Linked DNA regions of Homo sapiens: all the other regions are linked to region 1. The links are contacts of gene promoters, found by promoter capture Hi-C in human tissues and cell types (Jung and others, 2019). All regions are on one chromosome and are shown on one strand. The core of a region is centred on a gene start or on the middle of the fragment in contact, and the rest is flanking DNA. Distances in the headings are between cores, read along the strand shown. Region 1 holds the start of IDH2 (isocitrate dehydrogenase (NADP(+)) 2). Region 2 overlaps CRTC3 (CREB regulated transcription coactivator 3). Region 3 overlaps WDR93 (WD repeat domain 93). Region 4 overlaps IQGAP1 (IQ motif containing GTPase activating protein 1). Region 5 has its middle 5.3 kb from the start of IQGAP1.

Region 1 (2,829 bases), core at 131-2,630:
TGAGGTAGATTCCCAGAGGTACAAAAGCAGACATGCCCCTTTCTCCTTGGCAGGGAAGGTAGGACTGGGGCCCAAGCCTCCCTACCCCCCCGGCTCTAGTCAGCTGCTCCCACAATCCGGTTAACCATTACCTCCTCTGGCCAGGTCAGGGCCAGCGGGCCCCATCCCCTCTTCCTCACTCTCCTGGCTCACTGCAAGGGGCTCCTGGCCAGATTAGGATAGGGGTTTCCATGGCAACAGGCATTAGGCAGGGCCAAGGGACCTACATTGTTCCCTGCCTTTTGTAGCTGTGTTGGGTAGCCAGGGTGAGGGGGCAGGCCGATGCCCACACGCCAAGCAAGGCAGCCTGCGTTGGCAACGGAGGCTCGGGCTAAGTCTTGCTTATTACGACCCGACTACTGTCTTCCCTCCTAAGCAGGGAACTAAGGGTACCCAGAAGCCGTGGGAACGATTCCGCAAAGTGACATTTTGCGCGGGCTGCCAGGTCTCTGCGGCGAGTGAGCCAGGCAGGGAGGGCATGTGCCTGCCAAGGCAGGTCAAGTCAAGGAGAGGCCCCAGGATGGAGCCTCAAGTGCAGCGATGAAGGCGAAGGGGTGGGGGTGGGGGCGGCCAAACAAAAGGGGAAAATTAAAAAGGACGCTCCTCCAGCTGTCGTGTAAAAGGCTCCAAAAATAGCTGACGTGGGCCTGGTATCAGCGCGCGCCTGGCTGAAAAGGAAGGGGAAGTGCATGTCTCCCGCCTCCCAGCCTTTGTCTGAGCAGGGGCCGAGCCACGACCCTCCCTCTCGCCAGGGGAGCGCGCGGGGTGCTCCAGCCCCCCACGGGTGCTCGTCTCGTTCCAGGGGCGCAGGGCGGGCAGGCCACCCTTCGGGTCCGGGACACTCTCAGGACCCCCTCCCGAAATACCTAGGGGCGCGCGGCAGCCCCGAGCCCCCGCCCGCGCAGAGCTGGCCGTCGCCCGGGCCACCAGTTGCCACCGTCCCTCAAGTCCCCACCCCAGCGCCTGGCACGGCCGGGAAGCGCCGGGCGGGGGAGCGCGGAGCGAAGCTGCCCCGCGGCCCTTTGTGCGCCTGACCCCGCCGTCCCCGGGCTGCGGGCTGGCGGGACGTGCTTCCCGGCCCCAGCCTGGGAAGCCGCCACGTCGCAGCTGGGGGCGCGCGCCTGCCTGGACCCTCCGCGCGGCACTCACAGTGGCGCCGCGGCTGCTCTTGCGAGGTGGGGGCTGTCAGGGCCGCCGGCGCCCAGGCCGGCCGCGAGCCTGAGGCTCTGCAGAGCGAGCGCACGACCCGCAGGTAGCCGGCCATCCCAAGCTGGAGAGCGAACGAGCAGGGCGGGAGAGGTCCGAGCGCGCGCCGCTCCTCCCGGCTGCCTGGCCGCGGGCTAACGCTGGGCCTGGCGGGCGCTGGCCGCGCGGGCACCACCGGGGCGGGGCTGCCGGGCCTGCCGCCCCATTGGGCCTTGCCGGGGAGGAGGCGGGGCCAGGGCCGCCGACGCCTCCAGCGTCCCGCGGGAGCCGGGACCCGGCGGCCAGGCCCGGCTGGTGCTTCTCTGGGCGCCGCTGAAAGCCCAGCTCCGCAGGAGCTACAGGCGTGAGACCCACCGGGACCCGCGAGCGGGATCAGGGCTGGGGGATTAGCAGAGCCGCTTGCGAGGCTGACCCTCTCCAGGATGCCCCATGTAAACCTGGATGTCAGTTTCTGACGCTTTAGCTTAAACCCAAAAGCCAATCTGAGCGAACTCTTGCTTCCCTCGCCTGCCGGGCTGAACCCAAAGGCGCATTAGCCCAGTGCGGCTGCTTCATTCTTGAGCTAAGACCGCCGGCGGCGTCTGCGCCTCCGCGAGTCCGCTGTCAGGTCCAGCTGGTGTAGAGAGAGTTGAAATCTCACTTTGGGCCGGGCGCGGTGGCTCACGTCTGTAATCCTAGAACTTTTGGGAGGTCGAGGCAGGCGGATCACTTGAAGTCAGGAGTTCGAGACCAGGCTGGCTAACATAATGAAACCCCTGTCTCTACTAAAAATACAAAAATTGATCGGGCATGGTGGCGCGCGCCTGTAATCCCAGCTACTCAGGAGGCTGAGGCGGGAGAATCACTTGAACCTGAGAGGCAGAGATTGCAGTGAGCTGAGATCATGCCACTGCACTCCAGCCTGGGCAACAGAGTGAGACTCCGTCTCAAAAAAAAAAAAAAAAAACCACGAAAAAAGAAATATGATTGGACCAGAAGGCCAATAACCTGAGTGGGGAAACCCAGCAAGTCCTGTCCGTGTAGATTCTTCTTGACCTTTCTCTGCAGCATTCCTTCCTTCTGAGTACGGGGCAGGACTCTCTCTGGGATGGAGGGGTCTTAGGACCTGCAAGCAAACAAGGTAGGTCAGATAATTTATGGCCAGTTTTTACCCAGAAATGTGTGGGAGAAAGAGTAATATTTTTGGGTTCGATGTCTGGCTTTGGGGGAGAAGGGCTCTGGTTTCTATGACCTGCCTTGAGGAAGAAGGATTCCAGTTTCTATGGCTGGCCTCGGAGGAGAGTGAGGGGCCAAAGACAGGAGGGAGGGAGAGGGTCAGAGAGAGCTGCTCCTGAGGCCTGCATTTTGGGGTGTTGTTTTCTGAGACCCTAGAGTAGTCAAACAGCCACAGTAGAAACAGTTCCATTTTTGCCTGTTTGCATATAAAAGATGGGTTTGTTTGTTTGTTTTAATTAAAAATAGAGATGGGGGGATCTCACTATGTTGCCCAGGCTGGTCTCCAGCTCCTAAGCTTAAATGATCCTCCCGCCTCGGCCTCGCAAAGCACTGGGATTACAGGTGTGAGCCACTGCACCTGGCCACAAA
Region 2 (2,829 bases), core at 154-2,653, 500 kb after region 1:
GGAAGGTTAAAATGCTAACTTACACCTCAACATTGAAATCACCAGCGTTTGATGATTACGTGACTATTACACCACTGCATTCTAATTTGTATTATCAGTACTATGAGATCAGAGATACTGAGTTTAAAGATGGCAGTGTACTGAGAAAAATGGTAAACTTCTACTTCCTGAAATTAAGCGTTTCTGAACAGAGATTCATCAAATCTGCAGAAAAGAGAAAGGCAGATAACCGTAGGTTCTGAGGCTCGGTGTTTCCTCCCTAATGGCTTTGCCAACAGAAATACTGACAGGTTTTGTCTGTCACGGGCCTTACTATTTATCACCTTTTCCTCTCCTACCTCCTACTGTGGTCTTGCCTCATCTGTACTTCATGTACCTTAAGCCTAATAGTGAATGTTGAAGAAATGTCTCTCTTTGGAAATTATCTGTTTTATTTTATTGATTTAAGGTCAAATTAAGAAATAAGATAATGAGACTTGTCAAAGAAAACGAATACATAGAAGATGAAACTTGCAATCCTAATGCCTCTCCTGGCAAAGAAGACATTTCCCACCAAATCACTAAGAACTCATGAGAGCCTCCGTTTTCCTAATTCCAGATTCTGTATTTATTTGAGCTGCCCAGCCCAGGCCTGCAGGATAGGGCCCCACTCCATCAAGGCTCCTGTTTCCTCCTGAGCCCGAGCAGATGGTACCTTCTCTTATAGCCTCCATCCTTCCCAGAACACTCCAGGTACTATTTTCTATTTTCTGGGGGCATTTGGCATAGTTCACTGTTTCCTGAGAGGCAGCATAGCTTAGCGGAGAGCTCTCAGGCTTTGGTGTCAGTGATTTGTGGGTCTGACCCCTGATCCACCAGGCGTGCTATCTGATCTTGGATTTCTCAGCTCTTCTAGAACTGAGCCTCAGTTTCTTCAGCTATAAAATGGGGAAAATATCTGCCTCTCAGGATTGAGGTTAAATAAAGTGTGAACTCAGCACAGGCCTGGCACACAGTAGGTGCTTAGATATCTGTTTTCAAATTTCTGTCTTAATGTGTAGTTTGTATCTTCTTTATTATTTCCACCTTAAGAAATAAAAGTTTGGGATGAAAAGTATTATTGGTAACTGCCGAATGTATATTTAATCCAATCAGTGATCCAGGAGACAAAAGGAATGGGCTTGGTTTGGGTGAGTGATAAGGAGGCAACCTTCCACATAGGAGGTGAGAAAGGGGAAATGGCCTTAGCAAAGGCAGAGGGGCAGGAAAATACAGGCTGTGTTTGTGGAACTCAGAAAGCTGGAGGGAAGACAAGAGCAGAAGAGACCATTGTCCCCAAATTGTGGATCACCGCAATTACTAAGCCAGTAAGTTTTGATTTTGCCTTTTAGGCTGAACAAAATCATTGAAGATTTCTTAGCAGAATAATATGATTAACAGTGTCTTCAGAAGGCTATTGTGTGGGAACAATTAACTAAACGAATGAAAACAGCGCCCCTCTGCTCGGTGTGTAGTGCAGCATCCCATTTGTGTCTCCGTGCGTCCAGAATATGCTCCAAGGCATGGTAGACCCAGTGAACAACACAAGACTGATAAGACAGTGCCCCCAACAACACTGGAAAGTTTACCTTTCTTCACACATCTAATGCGCCTCTTTTTTGGTTATAAATACCAGGAACCGCCGGGCGCAGTGGCTCACACCTCTAATCCCAGCAATTTGGGAGGCCGAGGTGGGTGGATCACCTGAGGTCAGGAGTTCAAGACCAGCCTGGCCAACGTGGAGAAACCCTGTCTCTAATTAAAAAAAATACAAAATTAGCCGGGTGTGGTGGCGCATGCCTGTAATCCCAGCTACTCGGGAGGCTGAGGCAGGAGAATTGCTTGAACCTGGGAGGTGGAGGTTGCAGTGAGCCGAGATTGCGCCATTGCACTCCAGCCTGGGCCAAAAAAAAGAGTGAAACTCCGTCTCAAAAAATAAATAAGTACCAGGAACCCACCTTAACTTAAAAAAAGAAAATGTATTGGCATATGTCACTGGAAGCCCAAGGGCTAGATCCAAGGGGTCATACAATGTCATTGAGACCTACCTCTGTGGTACCACTTCTGAGATGACTTCAGGCATAACAGACAGGCTTTCTCCAAGGTGAAGACCCCCAGGTTCAGACGGCCCTTGGGCTTACCAGCCCTATTGGGGCACTCCTTTTTTTTCCACTCAAAAGCACTCTCCTTGGTTCTGTTTGCGTCGTGAGCCGATCCCTGAGCCAAACACTGTTTCCAGGGGGTGAGGTACCTAGACTAGAATCCTGGGCCTGGGTCCCTCACATGTGGCACAGAGGGAATGGCAGTGTTACCAGGTTTGGAGCAAGAGTGGAGACAGTTCCTGAAAACAAAAGTTGCCGGACAGGCAAAAAATAATAAACACCCCACAAAAAATCATGCAAAGAAAACACCGGTTAGAAGACAGCAGAATAGACTTGTCCTCAAGGAGGGAGATAAGAGAAAGCATGAAGGAAGAGCTGTCAGGTACAGGGATAAGGAACCAAAAACTCAGTTGTTTAACTCTCTGTGAGTCCACCTTGTTAATTCTGCTTCATCTTTCCATTAATTTTTATTTTTCCTTTATTAAAAATTCTACTTTGATGGTAGTGCTTTTGGAGCCAATTATTCCTCACAGCCTCTGGATGAGAGTTGGCCAAGGTAAGCAAGACATACTTTAAAAGATATGATGGGCATGTGTTATTTTTAGATAATTTCACTTTATCCACTTTGAATGTTGTTTAGAAATTTCTAATATAAAGCATAGAATCCTGTTTTCTCTTATAACATTTAATTTCAGTGGGAGGATCACTT
Region 3 (2,829 bases), core at 124-2,623, 370 kb before region 1:
TCAGCACAACACTGGCTGTATTGCCCCTGGGATAAGAGAACATCTATGTAGATCACCCGAGTCTGCTCTTTAAGGACATCTTCCCCAAAACAGAAGTGGCTCTCCAAAAGACAGCTGTCTCTGGCAAGAGCTCTGCACACCACACTGGCCTAGGAGTGATTCCCAGCCCCACCCAACCTGCCCTCACCAGCATCCAAGGTCAGCGCATCCCACCAGGACCAGCACCTAGAATGTGATGTGCTTCATGGCCTTCTTACCCCTGGGAAGGTCCATTCTAACTATCTATTCTGGTTTTAGGACCAAGACTCTGCCAGCAGCTCTCCTTGCCAGGGAGTCTACATGGCTCTGACTCGTGTGTCTTTCTTTCCCAGTACGGCCACCTTCTATTTCCTTCTTCCTAGCTGCCTATTTGCAATGCCACCGGAAGTCAAGGGCCCCTCAGGTAAATGAACATGAAGTGGGTGGTTGTCCTAGCAAGGAGTCACCTTGGGGAAACCCCTCAGCAAGCCCCCACAGAGATGTTCCCCAACAAACCTCGCATGGTAGGAGGGAATGAAGAGGGGAGTTTGGTTGCCAGCTGTAGCCTGTCAGTTTCTGCTTGCATCTGTGGCCCCTGAGCACAGGTTCTCTGATCACAAAGGCTGGCACTGCCTTCAGGGAGTGGTTGCCATAGGAGAAGGCATGAGCCCACATCCACCGGGCTGCTTCTGGATATGAGTTTGTCTTGTAGAAGATGTTACTTAAAACACTGAGGGTGTGAATTTTCTAGATGTGAAAGCAGCCGAGGGGGAGTTGAGACTGTCCTCCCTATGCAAGAAGGCGGGTGGGCCCCAGGAACAGCCCTCATGGGGCTGCCCAGTCCCTCTCTCTTGGGAAACTCACCCTTCTCTTGGGTGCTGCCCATTAAAACAAACCACTTCAGACTTCAAACCAGCTTCTCTTGGGCAAACACCTTCTGTGCAAACCAAAGGCCACCCAGATTTCCCCCTGTGTAACACCCATTTTCTGTCTTTCCCCCGCCCCCCCACCAGGAATGGCCTGTGTCCTTGGTATACACTGGACCAGAAGTCACAATTTCTTCCTGTATTCACTAAACCGAACTCTAAAGGATAAAGCTGGTACTTTACTGCTGAGATGGGAGTCGCCTAAGCTCAGGACTTGCAGACATGTCCTTCTCCAGCTTAGCTAAGAGCATGTGACTGACATACATCAAGTGTCACTTTAGGGACCAGATCTAGGCAGGCAGTAGGGGGTTTGGTGGGTGTAGTGTGACCGCAAGAATCTGTCTCTGAAATGTCATGTTCCTTAAAGACAACAGGTCAATAGGGACAAAGTCTACAGTCAGGTCCACAGGGCTCCTTAAGCAGCTAAGGTAAAAAGAGAGTAAGCTTGGCTGGGCGCAATGGCTCACGCCTATAATCCCAGCACTTTGGGAGGCCGAGGCGAGTGGATCACCTGAGGTCAGGAGTTCAAGACCAGCCTGGCCAACATGGTGAAACCCCATCTCTACTAAAAATACAAAAATTAGCCGGATATGGTGGCATGCGCCTGTAATCTCAGCTACTTGGGAGTCTGAGGCAGGAGAATCACATGAACCTGGGAGGCAGAGGTTGCAGTGAGCCAAGATCACACCACTGCACTCCAGCCTGGGTGACAGAGCAAGACTATCTCAAAAAAAAAAAAAAAAAAAAAGAGAGAGATTGAGAAAGTAGGCTTGGAATCAGAAGGTCAGTGCTAATCCTAGCCCAGCTGTCTGCAAACCATGTAGTCTCAGGCCAGTCGCTTCACACCCCAACCCACTTTTCATGCAGAACATAGAGCTAATTAATTACACCATTGTTGTCTAGTGCATGCGTTTGTTGAAAATAGCAAAATCCAGAGAGTTTCTGTATGTGAAGCTCTTCGAAATTGAAACGCACTAAGGAAATATAGGTTGTTGTTGTTTTACAAATTTATGGAGGTGACCAGGTGTGGTGGCTCATGCCTGTAATCCCAGTACTTTGGGAGGCAGAGGCAGGTGGATCTCTTGAGCCCAGGAGTTTGAAACCAGTCTGGGCAACATAGGAGACCCTGTTTCTACAAAAAATAGCCAAGCGTGGCAGCATGAGCCTGTAGTCCCAACTACTCAGGAGGCTGGGCCAGGAGGATCACTTGAGCCCAGGAGTTTGAGGCTGCAGTGAGCCAAGGTTGCACCACTGCACTCCAGCCTGGGTGACAGTGAGGCCCTGTCTCAAAAAAAAAAAAATTAATGGAAGCAGTCACATGAGCAAGTTTGCTTTGTGATAATTCCTTGAACTGTACACTTGTTATACTTTATATTACACTTCAAAAGTAACATTAAAAAATTCACAAAGGAGGAGTTTCTTTTCTTCCGTCCCTTTCCCAGGCAACCTGGCTTCTAATCTCCTTCTATACTGACTGTATGGCCTTGAGCAAGTCACTTCTCTGCCTCATCTATAAAATGGGGATACTAATAAGACTACTTTATAGAACCCTTGTGAGAATGCAATGAAATTATGTGTGTAAAGTGCCTAACACAGTATCTAGCACCTAGGACATACTCATTAAACATTAGCTGTAGAGTAATAATAAACAGTGTGACATTATCTTATCATCCTAGGCAAGGAGAATAGCACTTCATAAAGAGAAGGATGATGGTGAGTCCAGACAGGTGCTCCTGGTTCCCATTCCCTGAACAGGCAGACCAGTCTGAGTCACAGGTTGTCCAGGTAGAAGTGATGGGTAGGTGCAGAGTCTGGGGGAACCGGTTGAGTATTGTCCTTCCCCCTAGACCCCGAGGGTGTGTGGCCCTGTGCTGCGCCCATTGCA
Region 4 (2,829 bases), core at 184-2,683, 360 kb after region 1:
ATAATATTACCAACATATAAAATTGCCCACTCCTCTACCCTTCACCAAAACTTACAGAGCCCACACGAGTGTCAGTGTGCAAAAAGCTCCAATACACTAAAGCCTTGGTCTGTTTTTATACGTCTGGCTACTCAGAATTAAAAATTTCTTTTAGCCCTTCCGCTTGCTGCCTCACTTCAGGAGTCTTCTGAAGGCTATGGTTCTATCCAGTTGTTGTTACTTAGTAAGCACTGAAAAGGAGGTCAATCACAATTAGAAAACAGATGTTAATTATGCTTTAATCAACAATTATTTGAGGGCCTACTACATACAAGGCAACTTCCTAGACAGCAACAGCATAAAAAGAGGCATAAACCTTGTCAATTTCCTCAGCAAACTAGGTAGCGGGTAAGACAAACATTTTAAAAGATGAGTTTATGTTACAATTACTTTAACAACTTTATCTTCATAGTAGCATTATTCCTGATAGCCACAGTGGAAAAAAACAGTATGTCTATCAAGTCAGGAATAGATAAAGTGTAAATAATTCAAAAGGCTGTGTGTGCGTTTTGTTTGGGTCATCGGAGTAAAACTTTTTGAGGATGTGACTATAGAGTTTGAAGCATTTCCTTTGCTGTGGAATAACTTTTCAGACTTCATCAAAGGCGGAGGAAGTCGGGGGAGTTAAAGGAAAAATTGCTTAACATTGCCAGGCCCAGCTGGGTGAACTACACATTGGGTGGAATTGTTTTTTGTTTGTTTGTTTTTGGTTTGGGTTTTTTGTTTTGTTTTGTTTTGTTTTTTGTTTTTGGCATCACCTGAGCATCTAAGTCTCCATCAGCCATTTGGGAGTGTTTTTAAAAATATTTATCACTGAGTTACAAATTTAGAGAGCAAAAGATCTTAATTTAAATTTGGTCTGTAGTTTTATTTTCTTCTGATATCTTTGTGTTTGGTTTTGGTATCAGGGTAATACTGGCCTCATGACTTGAAGTGTTCCTTTTATATTTTCAAAGAGTTTGTAAAGGATTAGCTAGTTCTTTAAACATTTGTTACAAGTCACCAGTGAGGCCACGTGGTCCGGAGTTTTTTGTGTGGGGGATATTTTTTGTTTTGTTTTGAGCTGCAGTACTGTGTAGGAAAGGGGTCCCGATGCAGACCCCAAGAGATGGTTCTTGGATCTCACACAAGAAAGAATTCAGAGAGAGTCCATAGAGTGAAGTGGAAGCAAGTTTATTAAGAAAGTAAAGGAATAAAAGAATGGCTTCTCCATAGACAGAGCAGCCCTGAGGGCCGCTGGTTGCCCATTTTATATTTCATGATGATATGCTAAACAAGAGCTTTATCAGATCTTTTCTGAGCATGTGCACAGCCCACACATGCACTGTGGCCTCCTAGATCCCATCCAGGAATATGTCAAGTTGTCAGAGCTCTCCATGAACATCTCATTCTCCAGCTTTTCCTTATAAGGTTTTTAGTTAGTCTCTTGTTTGCCTAAACTGTTATCCTTAATGTTTTTGACAATTGCTTTTGGAGAAAAGGCTGTTTGCAGTGGATGAGCTCTTGGTCAGGTCAAATAAAGACAGCCATGCGAGTGTGACCTCTGAACAGGTCAGCTAATGACAGTTCTTTGGGAATGGGGCTTTGAAGGGATGGTAGGAGGGGCAGATTGGAATAGGGGAGTTTAAAGCACCACAGAACTCACTGTTCTTACTGAGTTTCAGCTGTTTTTCTTGAATGCATTCTCCAATTTCTGCAAGCCTTTGGTTAATTTCTACCGTATTGAAAAAACTGGCCGGGTGCAGTGGCTCATGCTTGTAATCCCAGCACGTTGGGATGCCAAGGCGGGTGGATAGTTTGAGCCCAGGAATTTGAGACCAGGCTGGGCAAGATGGTAAAACCCTGTCTTAACGAAAAATAAAAATATTAGCTGGACACGGTGGTGTGCACCTGTGGTCCCAGGCACTTGGGAGGTTGAGATGGAAGGATCACTTGGGCCTAGGGGGCTGAGGTTGCGGTGAGCCAAGATTGCACCACTGCACTCCAGCCTGAGTGACAAAGCAAGACCCTGTCTTTAAAAAAAAAAAAAAAAAAAAAAAAGGGCTGGGCGCAGTGCCTCATCCCTGTAATCCCAGCACTTTGGGAGTCCCAGGTGGGCAGATCACCTGTGGTCAGGAGTTCGAGACCAGCCTGGCCAACATGGTGAAACTCCATCTCTACTAAAAATACAAAAAATTAGCCAGGCGTGGTGGCAGGCACCTGTAATCGCAGCTACCCAGGAGGCTGAGGCAGGAGAATCACTTGAACCCAGGAGGTGGAGGTTGCAATGAGCACCACTGCACTCCAGCTTGGGTGACAAGAGTGAAACTCCGTCTCAAAAAAAGAAAAACTGATGCTGGTGATTGTTTGCCAGTGTACCAATGTTTTTTGTTTGTTTGTTTTTCATGGTGGAGAGGATTTTCAGAGGTCTTTACCATTTTCACTAATGTCACGTTTCTCTTCATTAAATTTAGTGTTTGTGGGACTCTTGATAAAAGTGGATTACTAGTCGTGAGTAGTACAGTCTGAATGCAAGACATGGATATCAGGGCTCCTCAAGAACTCATTTTATAATTAAGAATATGAATGACTTAGGCCGTGTGTGGTGGCTTACGCCTATAATCCCGGCACTTTGGGAGGTCAAGGCAGGCGGATCACTTGAGGTCAGGAGTTTGAGACCAGCCTGGCTGACATGGCGAAACTCCATCTCTACTAAAAATACAGGTGTGGTGTACACCCCTGTAGTCCCAGCTACTCAGGAGGCTGAGGCAGGAGGATTGCTTGAACCCGGGAGTAGGAGGTTGCAGTAAG
Region 5 (2,829 bases), core at 98-2,597, 280 kb after region 1:
TCCTGATTTCAGAGGCATTTAAATATAAAAAAAATTGGGACTTATTTCTTGAAAATGTTGTACTTACTAGACAGTAAGACTTATTTCTGAAGATACCTGGTTTCTAAAAGTACTACTGGGAAATATAATAAATGAGGAAGTGATTAATTTTGCCTGGGGAGTAGGTGACATTTGAATTGGGTCTGGGAGGTTCAGTAGGAGTTTCCCAGGCAGATAATAGGCTAAAAGGTATTCCAAGCAAGGGAAACTTCTATTATGGTGCTTATCTCAAGATATCCTGTTAATATTGCTTGACTCCTCCTGGCTTGTAAATTCTTTGTGGTCATTAACCAATTTTGACTCCCAAAATGACCATTTACCTCATTATTTTGCCGTTTATTCATTTCATATTTACTAATTTTATTCATATTTATATTTGCTGACAAAATAGTATTTCCAGCAGCTCATTTTAAATACAGACAAGCAAGCAAGCAAACCCCACACAAATCCAGTGTAATAGCACTGCCTGGAGAAGCCACTGTTAATATATTGGTGTATATACTTCAAGGCTTTATCTATTCATATGCACATATCCATCAATGTATCTATCTATCTAGCTACATTTAAAACAAAATGGTATCATATTTATTAGTCATAATTTGATATATTAACTTAACCACAATATTAAAATATTGTACTGCCAGCCTGTACATTTTTTGCCTGCCCAGCCTCCCACTGAAGGAAATTATGCCCAGCTCATAGTTCTCTATGCTTAATTATCTGTATCTCCTGATCATAGTTGATTGAAGTAAAGGATCAGCATCCAATCTAAGGGCAGCCTGCCTGTGGGTGGTCAGAGATTTACCCACAGGGTGGAAAGCTGAGCTGGGTCAATCATATGCCACTCTATGGGTTATGGAGTTAGGCAATTGAGATGATCCTCAATGGAGCTGATGATGTAAGGATACCATGACCTTCAGTCAAAGCCATGGCAAGGCAAGCAGAAACAAGAGTTGTGAGGGAACAGAAAAAATTAAATGGAGTAAGCTGGTTAGCAAAGAGTGGAGAGTAGAGCCAGCCTGTGGAAAAGCAGAGATGCCCAGAGAATGAAACCATGACTTCAAGCTTTCATTAGTCCTGTTTTTTTTTGTTTAGTGTAGTTTTGTTTTTGGTGCAGTTCCAGTCCATATAGGTCTGTATAAGAAAGGCCTCCCTTCCAGCCTTTTTTCCTCTAGAAGTAAAACTGTGCATGTCTGTTTCCTGTAGCCAGTCAAGCCTGACCAGACCACAGATCATCACTGTTCATGGCTATATGGCATTCTATTGTGTATAGCTGCCATCACTGATTTAAACACCTACTGATGGACATTTGAGTAATTTCCAAGGAGCATCTTCATGGATAACTTTTGCACATTTAATAAAAGCACGATATCCTTATGATACATTCCAAGAAGTGAAGTTTTTTGGTTGAAGAATAGATGCATAATGATAAGCTGGTCTTTAGAAAGACTATATTAATTTATTGCCTACTAACATTGCATAAGAGTGGTTGCTTTTTCACCCCCTTGCCAATAATATCAATTAAAAAGACAAACCAAAATGTTGCTACATATGATAGGCAAGAAGTGATATGTGGCATGTTATCTTTTCTATTTTTTTTTTTTTTGGTGATGGGTCTCACTCTGTCTACCTGGGCAGGAGCACAGTGGCGGGATCACAGCTCACTGCAGCCTCAACTCCCAGGCTCAAGCGATCCTCCCACCTCAGCCTTTTGGGTAGCATGCCACCACGCTGGGCTAATTTTTTGTATTTTCTGTAGAGACGGGGTTTTTCATTTTGCCCAGGCTGGTCTTGAACTCCTGGCCTCAAGCAATCCTCTCTCCTCTGCTTCCCAAAGTGCTGGGGGGTATAGGTGTGAGCCGTTGTGCCTGGCCAGCATGTTATTATCTTAATGTCTATTTCTCTGAATCTTGAGTTTATTGACTAGGAATTGGGCTTTGTCATTAGACAGGCCTGGGTTTGAGTTCCAGCTCTGCCTCTTGCTGTGTGGCTTCAGGTAAGTAACCCAGTTCTCCATTTTCCCAAGTGTAAAATGGACATAATGGGATTATTACAAGGATCAGCTGAGAAAATAAATGTGCAACACTTAGTATAGTAAGGTACCAGTGCAGTTGGTAACTTAACATCTCTGTGGCTTTCACCTCAGACAAACTTTGTAATTAAGTAAAGAAAGCCTTTATGGAATGAACAATTGGATTAATATGTTGGAGTTAAGAAGAAATATTTCGGCTGGGCATGGTGGCTCATGCCTATAACCCCAGCACATTGGGAGGCCAAGGTGGGCAGATCACTTGAGGTCAAGAGTTCGAGACCAGCCTGGCCAACATGGCAAAACCTCACCTCCAGTAAAAATACAAAAATTAGCCGGGTGTGGTCGTGTGCGCCTGTAAGCCCAGCTACTCAGGAGGCTGAGGCAGGATAATCACTTGAACTTGGGAGGCTGAGGTTGCAGTGAGCCGAAATCACGCCACTGCACTCCAGCCTGGGTGACAGAGTGAAACTCTGTCTCAAAAAAAAAAAAAAAAAAAGAAGAAGAAGAAGAAATATTTCACATTTTATGTATTCGCAATGTTTAAGAAAATTTGGCCGACTTGAATGACAGCTTTTTTGTAAATCATTTTAAATGTGTAATTGAGTTAGTTTTAGACTTAGGTTTTTGAGTTGAAAGCTTACTAAGTTTACACATGGAATCAGGCCATCTAAGAGAATGTTAGCTTTGTTATGCTTGTATGTTTATTTATAGGAATTACTAAGTTTTGAAAAAGTTTTAAACAATTGAATGAATTAAAA

Evidence for each region. The method cuts DNA at HindIII sites, captures the fragments that hold promoters and counts their contacts. A contact is called where the count stands out against the background at its distance.
Region 2: a fragment that was not itself captured here is called in contact with the fragment with the promoter of IDH2 in region 1 in 1 of the 25 tissues and cell types used here (bladder).
Region 3: a contact is called between a fragment that was not itself captured here and the fragment with the promoter of IDH2 in region 1, in 2 of the 25 tissues and cell types used here (mesendoderm cells and thymus).
Region 4: a fragment that was not itself captured here is called in contact with the fragment with the promoter of IDH2 in region 1 in 2 of the 25 tissues and cell types used here (aorta and neural progenitor cells).
Region 5: a fragment that was not itself captured here is called in contact with the fragment with the promoter of IDH2 in region 1 in 1 of the 25 tissues and cell types used here (H1 embryonic stem cells).

Annotation. Positions count from the first base shown.
Region 1 is chr15:90,101,088-90,103,916 of GRCh38, forward strand. IDH2 (isocitrate dehydrogenase (NADP(+)) 2) reads right to left here and starts at 1,381. Exons shown (of 11, transcript NM_002168.4): 1 at 1,189-1,381. The coding sequence starts at 1,303. IDH2-DT (IDH2 divergent transcript) reads left to right here and starts at 1,045. Exons shown (of 3, transcript NR_149130.1): 1 at 1,045-1,291; 2 at 2,293-2,365. RefSeq lists enhancers at 1-662, 663-1,517 and silencers at 52-101, 162-251, 742-811, 1,132-1,591. The HindIII fragment of the contact is 13,716 bases long and covers 1-2,829 here.
Region 2 is chr15:90,599,710-90,602,538 of GRCh38, forward strand. It overlaps CRTC3 (CREB regulated transcription coactivator 3), which reads left to right. Exons shown (of 15, transcript NM_022769.5): 4 at 2,615-2,676. LOC124903554 (a long non-coding RNA gene) reads left to right here. Exons shown (of 2, transcript XR_007064756.1): 2 at 599-1,096. Among named protein-coding and RNA genes, the nearest start is that of LINC01585, 59 kb to the right of the region's middle. The HindIII fragment of the contact is 8,040 bases long and covers 1-2,829 here.
Region 3 is chr15:89,728,652-89,731,480 of GRCh38, forward strand. It overlaps WDR93 (WD repeat domain 93), which reads left to right. Exons shown (of 17, transcript NM_020212.2): 10 at 372-442; 11 at 1,032-1,118; 12 at 2,792-2,829. Among named protein-coding and RNA genes, the nearest start is that of MESP1, 21 kb to the right of the region's middle. The HindIII fragment of the contact is 4,492 bases long and covers 1-2,829 here.
Region 4 is chr15:90,458,945-90,461,773 of GRCh38, forward strand. The region is part of intron 15 of IQGAP1 (IQ motif containing GTPase activating protein 1); the gene reads left to right. Among named protein-coding and RNA genes, the nearest start is that of CRTC3, 70 kb to the right of the region's middle. The HindIII fragment of the contact is 7,780 bases long and covers 1-2,829 here.
Region 5 is chr15:90,381,553-90,384,381 of GRCh38, forward strand. No RefSeq gene overlaps it. Among named protein-coding and RNA genes, the nearest start is that of IQGAP1, 5.3 kb to the right of the region's middle. The HindIII fragment of the contact is 4,681 bases long and covers 1-2,829 here.